Regions from separate parts of the Homo sapiens genome. Here region 1 is linked to region 2. The links are contacts of gene promoters, found by promoter capture Hi-C in blood cells and fetal thymus (Javierre and others, 2016). All regions are on one chromosome and are shown on one strand. The core of a region is centred on a gene start or on the middle of the fragment in contact, and the rest is flanking DNA. Distances in the headings are between cores, read along the strand shown. Region 1 overlaps UST (uronyl 2-sulfotransferase). Region 2 holds the start of PCMT1 (protein-L-isoaspartate (D-aspartate) O-methyltransferase).

The links. The method cuts DNA at HindIII sites, captures the fragments that hold promoters and counts their contacts. A CHiCAGO score of 5 or more calls a contact.
Region 1: a fragment that was not itself captured here is called in contact with the fragment with the promoter of PCMT1 in region 2 in 1 of 17 cell types (activated CD4 T cells); the score reaches 6.9 in activated CD4 T cells.

Annotation. Positions count from the first base shown.
Region 1 is chr6:149,022,809-149,026,939 of GRCh38, reverse strand. The region is part of intron 7 of UST (uronyl 2-sulfotransferase); the gene reads right to left. Among named protein-coding and RNA genes, the nearest start is that of UST-AS2, 7.8 kb to the left of the region's middle. The HindIII fragment of the contact is 1,605 bases long and covers 1,561-3,165 here.
Region 2 is chr6:149,748,036-149,752,174 of GRCh38, reverse strand. It overlaps PCMT1 (protein-L-isoaspartate (D-aspartate) O-methyltransferase), which reads right to left and starts at 2,434. Exons shown (of 8, transcript NM_001360452.2): 1 at 2,219-2,434. The coding sequence starts at 2,273. It also overlaps a transcript of NUP43 not described here. RefSeq lists enhancers at 498-1,000, 1,001-1,503, 2,469-3,434 and silencers at 1,608-1,902, 1,828-2,064, 2,295-2,684. The HindIII fragment of the contact is 1,314 bases long and covers 1,759-3,072 here.

The DNA.
Region 1 (4,131 bases), core at 1,114-3,613, 730 kb after region 2:
TTACATATTTTTCCTTTGTAATAGTTGGTGACCATATTCTTAAGGCAGCCCACAAAAGTCTAGTAAATTCCCTACTGTGGCTCCAGTGTTTACATTTGTAATGGAAACGTGTTGAAAATGAATACTAATGTAGTGCTAGTCATGGAAAGTATTTAAAACACAAAGTAAAAGGATTGGACACATGAGTTTTCAAGTCGCTAGGAAGGGAGAAGGTAATGGGTTAATATTAGGTCATAGAGTTCTATGTCTGGATGCTAGGTGGCGCTATTGAACCAGAACAGCTCGGTTATTTGCCAAGTCAAGGGTTTATAGAGGGATGCTCATATGACTGTTCCTATTACACATATTCACATGTTCCTTGTCTTTCATGTGCTTATTTATTTTGGCCCTTACCACCACTGAGATTTTAGCTCCTAAAAATTATGACTAGAAAAATACTGATGGCTCACAGCATGTCTTTAAGAGTTAAGGAGAAAAAGTGTTCAGAAATACATTAATATTCACTGCTCAGAAATATGTGAGTCTTGCCCCTTACTTACACATTTTTGTGGATGACTATGGATCATTCTCTCAACTTCTCTGGGCTGGCTTCAGTTTCTCATTTTTACTTTTATTTTATTTTTGAAACAAGGTCTTGCTCTGTCACCTAGGCTAGAGTGCAATGGGTGCGATCATCATAGCTCACTGCAGCCTCGACCTCCCCAAGGCTCAGGTGATCCTCCCACTTCAGCCTGCCCAGTAGCTGGGACCACAGGCACATGCCATCAGGCCTGTTTTTTTTTTTTTTTTTTTTAGATGGAGTCTCACACTGTCACCTAGGCTGGAGTGCAGTGGTGCAATCTCTGCTCACTGCAACCTCTGCCTCCCAGGTTCAAGCAATTCTCCTGTCTCAGCCTCCAGAGTAGCTGGGATTACAGGCACCTGCCACCATGCCCAGTTGATTTTTTGTATTTTTAGTAGAGATGGGGTTTCACTATGTTGGCCAGGCTGGTCTTGAACTCCTGACCTCGTGATCCACCCACCTTGGCCTCCCAAAGTGCTGGGATTACAGGTGTGAGCCACCACGCCTGGACTTTTTTTTTTGTATTTTTAGTAGAGACGAGCTTTTGCTATGTTGCTCAGGCTAGTCTCAAACTCCTAGCCTCAAGTGATCTGTCTGCCTTGGCTTCCCAAAATGGTAGGATTACAGGTGCAAGTCACTATACCTGGCCTCAGTTTCTCATTTTTAAAAGGTGATAAGTAATAAACAAACATAATAAGGATTAATCAATAAAAAATAATTATGTATAAGATGACATATGTGATCATATGTAATAATTATGTATATGTTCAACCAGTGAGGTTGCTTCTACCGAGTAAACCTGCTGGGGCCTTGGTGCTCCCTAATTCAAACTCATGGTCAGGATTGAGCAGTGTTTTCTGAATGCCCACTCCACAGTACTTGTCCTAATATCAGCAGCTGCGCACCGGCTGGAAGAAATACCAAGCATATTCTCTTGGTTATCCATCTTGCTAAAACTCTAATTTTTATTTCATCTCAAGTACTTACTATCCTAAGCTTCTGAGATACTCTATTCTGTCTCCATAAAATGCAAATATTAACATAAAATGACTGTTTAAAAAAAGTTCTAAAGGCTAAGTTTCTCCAATATTTTTGGTAGGAGACAAATTTACTTGATGTCAGCATATATTTCTACAAGAAAGGAACAGAAGAAAAGACAGTTACGCTGTTATTGAGAAAGGTTATTAACCTGTCTAAATGGTGAGTTATTGGGACAGGTAGTATTGATTTGAAAGAATCAATGAATATCATTTCAATCTGAAATAAGTGACAACCCATATGACTAACAGACATTACGATTTTTACTAGCTCTCCAAAGAGTCATTGCTATTAGTGTTTTTTCTTCTGTAATGAGACTGGTATACATATTTTTAGTATTGCTAGAGAGGAGTTACCAGAAGTCAGCAAACTCCTATTTTTTTTTTTGTTTTTGTTTTTCAATAACAGGACAAACACCAAAGAAAAATGGCCAGTGGTGTTTTTGCATCTTAATTCAGCTCTTCAGATGGTTAGTTAATCTACAATGAGTTAAGGGTCACTAGATCCCTTAAATCAGTATCTTAGATTTTAGCTTTTCTTCTCTCTGTTCTCTAATCTACTCAGTTATCAAACTCTTCAATAAAGGGAAAGAGTAATGATTTTAGTATGCCCTAAGACATGAACTTAGACTAAAAATACAAAGATGAGATGGTGAAGTAACTAGAAACTTGCAGCTATTCTTTCTTTAACCTACTTGACACCAACTCAGTTGTGGTGATGAGAAAACAATATGGGTGCTAAGTCTTCCCTGAGGCTAAAATATATTGAGAAACTGGCCAGGAGTGTGTGTTGATCTCTTGTCCTCTGCCTCAGGGGACACGGAAACTTGTTGGGATAGAGGAACTGTGGACTAGCTTGGTCTTCAATGTTACCATAGAAACATATCACAAGAAGATGCCCAAGAGAACACAAAACACAGTAGAAGTTACTGAAGCAACAACTCAAAGGTTCATTTTATTGGGCATATAATGTGTGGCAGCTGAGAGAGTTATGCTAGGGTGATATTTAAAGTATTTGACAACCAGCTCCACTCAAGAACTGAACTCAGAACAGTCACTGAGTGTGACACTGGCCCGGGGTCCTGAAGATCCCTCTTGTGCCATGAATTAGTCCTTCCGTTACATCACTGTTGGAAAAGGCGGGGGTAACAAGGACGGGCAGCCAGGCTGGCAGGTGCACCCTGAAGGCCGTATAGAAGTGTTTCACTGTTTTAACCGCTAGTCCAGCTGGACCACGTGGACTGGCCAAGTGGCCTGGCTTATGGAAACCTTTCATCCCACTACACAGGAAAACCAGATGTCCTTTATTCTCTTTGAGATATTTACTATGCCAAACTCTGAGGGAAAAATAATCTTTAATTTATAGGTGGAAAGATCATGGCTGAAGGTAAAAGAGTTAATAGTAACTTGGTTTTCAGAAATCTTTTCTCCTTGAATTAACGAACTTTCAGATCACGGAATAAAGGCCCATAATTTCTGAGAAGACACATATTTAAATGGAGAAAATAGGAAGTCAATATGATATACCACGACAAGAGCCACTAAGTGGGTCCTCTGGGCTAAGCTTTTTATAGGTGGTTTATCTGTATTCAAAAGCATGAAGATAAAAATACCCTCATCTAGGTTCTCAGGTCCACAACCCCTGTGCTGGGTTTTGCATCCTGTGAATGGTGTGTGTTCCAGACCTCAGGATGGATGGTGATGTAACTGGAAGAGGACTCTCACGTTGGCTCCTCCTCCCAAATGCTGGGACAAGAGAGTGCTCATTAAAATAAACAATATTAATAAAATAAAAACACATACATTTATTTCGTACACTGGCTCTGAGGGTCAGAAATTCAGGGGTAGCTTAGTTGGGTGGTCCTGGCTTGGGATCTCTCATGAGACAGCCATTAACATGTTGGTTGGGGCTGCAGTTATCTGAAGGCTTGACTGGGGTCATAGTAGCTGCTCCCAAGATGGCTCACACACGTGGCTCTTGGTCTGAGGTCTCAGTTCCTCACTATGTGAACCTCTCTTCATCCATAGCAGCTGATCTCTCTCAGAGCAAATGACTGAGCAGACAGTAACAAAGTTGGAAGCCATAATATCTTTTATGGAGAGTGTTCATCTTATGTGTCACCAGGATTTAGTTTGCCCTTTATCTCAGACTGTGTATTAGACACACACACACCACACACCACACCACACCACACACACACACACACACACACACACACACACACACACACACACACACCATAGAACAAGATAAAGCCAAAAGGAGAAAATGATTAACATAAACCTTTCTTCTTCAAAGGAGTCTAATTTAGGATAAGACCTCTCCTTGCACAAAGAACGGAGTTTATGTTGTCTTCTAGAAATAAAAATCAGTCACATCAAACTCTTTACATTAAAATTCTATAAACTCTTTAAATGGCTTGTTGTTGAAAAGACAAAGGAAATCCTAGTTTCACAACCCCACTCAGGTAAATGGGATTTGAACTCTAATGAGAGCTGGGAGGCTAAGGCAGCCTCCACCAACTATCCACC
Region 2 (4,139 bases), core at 1,185-3,684:
AGGTGCGGTGGCTCACTCTTGTAATCCCAAAATTTTGGGAGCCTGAGTCCAACAAATTGCTTGAGTCCAGGAGTTCAAGACCAGCCTGGGCAACATAGCAAGACCCCATCTCATAAACTACCAAAAAAAAAAAAAAAACCCTAAAAATTAGCCTGGTATGGTGGCACCACTGTACTCAGGAGGCTGAAGTGGGAAAATCGCTTGAGCACAGAAAGCAGGGGTTGCAGTGAGCCGAGCTCACACCACTGCACTCCAACCTGGGTGACAGTGAAACCCTGTCTAAAAAAAAAAAATAATCAACATTCTCTCTTACCAAACACTAAAGACTCAGTTTCCACATTAAGTATTGTCCCCCCACCAAAAAAAAATCCAAAATGACTAATATATCAAGTACCGGCCTGGCGCGGTGGCTCACGCCTATAATCCCAGCACTTTGGGAGGCCGAGGTGGGCAGATCATGAAGTCAGGAGTTCGACATCAGCCTGGCCAACATAGTGAAACCCCTTCTCTACTAAAAATACAAAAATTAGCCAGGCGTGCTGGCAGGCGCCTGTAGTCCCAGCCACTCAGGAGGCTGAGACAGGACAATTGTTTGAACCTGGGAGGCGGAGGTTGCAGTGAGCTAAGACCGCGCCATTGCACTCCAGTCTGGGCTACAGAGGGAGTCTCTGTCTCAAAAAAAAAAAAAAAAAAAAAAAGTACCAACCATGTGCCAAACAGTACTCCTAATTTCTCTCAATTACCTTTGTCTGTCTAGCACAGATTTAGGCATATAACGGACATTTAATGGGCATTTATGAAAAAAAGGGATGACTGTTAAATTCTTAGAGAAAATTCAAAAAAAAATTTTTTTTTTGAGGCGGAGTTTCCTCCCTTGTTGCCCAGGCTGGAGTGCAGTGGCAAGATCTTGGCTCACTGCAACCTCCCCGTCCCGGGTTCACGCGATTCTCCTGCCTCAGCCTCACAAGTAGCTGGGATTACAGGCAGGCACCACCACGCCCGGCTAATTTTTGTATTTTTAGTAGAGATGGGGTTTCACCATGTCGGCCTGGCTGGTCTCGAACTCCTGAACTCAGGTAATCCACCCGCCTCGGCCTCCCAAAGTGCTGGCATTACAGGCGTGAGCCAATGAGCCCGGCCAAAAAAAATTTTTTTTAATGGTGCCAGCCGTTAAGGAAATTACAAATCGAGTTGAGAAATAAGACAAACACATGAAAAGCTAAGTAACACAGGACAATTAAAAATACCATGTGACAAGATATGATTACTGCATAGTAGCGAATAATGCTATAAATTCTGACCAGTGAGTTTATTATAGACTGCGGCCCTTGTAGTCTCCCAACAAAACGGGGACGCTATATTTCGATTTAAAAAAAGAAAGTGACACAGCACTCATCCTATCCTAAAATTATCATCAGAAGAAGGAATACAGTAACTAAGGAGAGTGATATAAAGAAACTCCACATAAGGTTTTTAAAGCCTATGGTAGCCCTGAAAAAAGTTAGAACATCAGACACACAACCCTCTGCTGATCCAGGACCTGCAAAGGCTCCTGAAATACAAGTCTCTCAGGAACAGCATCCCCTGTTCTTTCTCCGCCCCGCACGGAGCTTTCCACTGGACAGCCGCCCGAGAAATTTCTCCCAGCATCTGCAATGGCAATACTCTCATCTTCCTCCCCTCGCCTGTATCAGACGGTGGCATCTCCCTCCAGGGGAAAAAACGGAGGGCGGGGGAGGCTGCATAAGAGGGAAAGCTTGCAGCGAGGTTGATTATGGAGGAGGAAGGTGAGAAAAATGCAGGGGACGAGGGTGGGGTCTCCTGAGCGCCAGCCCACTCTCCATAAGGCCTAGCCCACACGCTCCCACCCCGAAGGCACGCCCCTCACAAGCCGGACCCGGACGCGGACCTGAGTGACAGCAGCATCACCTGTACTGCACTCCCTCCCCCAGGGCCTGCAGGGAGACGACTGCCCCTGCCCCCACCAGCAGCGGCCCCTGGCTCTTTCTCTCCCCTTCCAGTCCACGTCGTCGACGAGTGACAGGTCCCGAGGGAGGCGACTGCAAGCGCACGCCGTTCGGGACTACCGGGGCAACTCTGCGCCGAAGCCCTCCAACAGGCGCGCGGGGACAGACAGAACGTTCCGGACGGCCCAGGGGGACCCGGTCCAGGCCCAGCCTGCCCCAGCTGCCCTACAACGGGCGGAGGTGGCACTTACTGCGGAGATTGTGGATTAGCTCCGAGTGGCTGGCGCCGCCGGATTTCCAGGCCATCGCTAAGCACACTCGGAGCAGGTACAGAACCACCTTCAGCGCGACGACGGTGCCCAGCAGTTTTCCCAAGAGTGAGACCACCTCCCACACCGTCACCGCCCCGCTCGCGTCCCCGCTGTAGCTGCCGCTGTTACTGCCGTCGCCGCCGCTGCCGCCACTGCGCGCTCCCGGCATCCCCCGCGGCACGCATGCGCTCTGTGACGCCGCGCGGCTTAGGGTGCGGCCGGGTGGGGCCGAGGGCGGGGGAGGCGTGTGGCCCAGCCGCCCGCCCCTGTGGCTGCTACCGCTGCCAGGGGACTGCAGGGAGGCCGGGCTGAGTCAGCGCCACTTCCGCTGCTGCGTGTCCCTTTCTGAGGCCTCGGACCGCACCGCTTTCGCCCTGCGGCCCGGCTCGGTAGCCTGATCAGTCGCGTTCCCGGCTGTGTCTCCGGTCACCGAGCGGGACGGCGGGATGGCGGGGTCGATCTGTGCAGACGCTGCTAGTGGTTCCGCAGTCGTCGCTGGGTCAGCTGTTTCGAGCGGCGGATCTGCTCCTATAGATGTCCAGATTGTTAGACGGTGGGCTTCATCCGTCCTACCTCGCCCAACCCAGTTGACTAATATTTGGGTCGGTGGAGCCCGAATAATACAATAAGAATAAAACCCAACGACAAAGGCCCTCTCTAACCCGAGTACACCGGCCTCTGGCTTTGTGACAAGCACGTCACTGTTAGGCTAAGCAGAGACTTTGGAACCCCGGTTCTAAAGCTCTCAGAGTGGAAGAGTACCAGGACATGGGGGTGGGGGTTGGGGCAAAGCTTTGCTCCCTTAGAATAATACCAACGTACAGAGTTGCGATTGGTTAAAAAATACCACTGTGTCCTTTGGTGAACGTGTTATTCTCCCGACGTAAGTGTGCATTTCCACCTAATTAAGCCTCACAAATTCCACCGTGGCTTTATTGCTCTCAGCTCTGCAAGACCATGAGTGAGAAGCTCACTGAGAACATTGCTTGTCGCGTCCAAATCGCTGACTCCTAATTAGACCTGAGACTGACAGAATCCAGCCATCATCTAGTCCAGTAACTTTTTTTTTTTTTTTTTTTTTTTTTTTTGAGACGGAGTCTCGCTCTGTCGCCCAGACTGGAGTGCAGTGGCGCGATCTCGGCTCACTGCAAGCTCCGCCTCCCAGGTTCAGGCCATTCTCCTGCCTCAGCCTCCCGAGTAGCTGGGACTACAGGCACCCGCCACCACGCCCGGCTAATTTTTTGTATTTTTAGTAGAGACAGGGTTTCACCGTGTTAGCCAGGATGGTCTCGATCTCCTGACCTTATGATCCGCCCGCCTCGGCCTCCCAAAGTGCTGGGATTACAGGCATGAGCCACAGCGCCCGGCCTCCAGTAATCTTTTAGAAGGAAACAAAGCTAAGACATCTGTGCCACTATATCAGCACAATTTTCAAATTCTAGTTCTTATCCGATTTTGTAAAATGTGACACTGGCCTGCTTCCAATCCAAAATCAACATTACCTATTTTCTGGGATTATGTGACCATAAATGAAACTACAGGCAAAACTGGTTTCTTTTTGTTTTTTTGCTTTTGATTGAGACGGAGTCTCACTCTGTAGCCCAGGCTGGAATGCAGTGGCATGATCTTGGCTCATTGCAACCTCCACCTCCCAGGTCCCGGTTCAAGCAATTCTGCCGCAGCCTCCCGAGTAGCTGGAATTACAGGCACGCACCACCATGCCCAGCTAATATTTTTGTATTTTTAGTAGAGACAGGGTTTCACCATGTTGACCAGGCTGGTCTTGAACTCCTGACCTCGTGATCTGCCTGCCTTGGCCTCCCAAAGTGCTGGGATTACAGGCGTGAGCCACCGTGCCTGG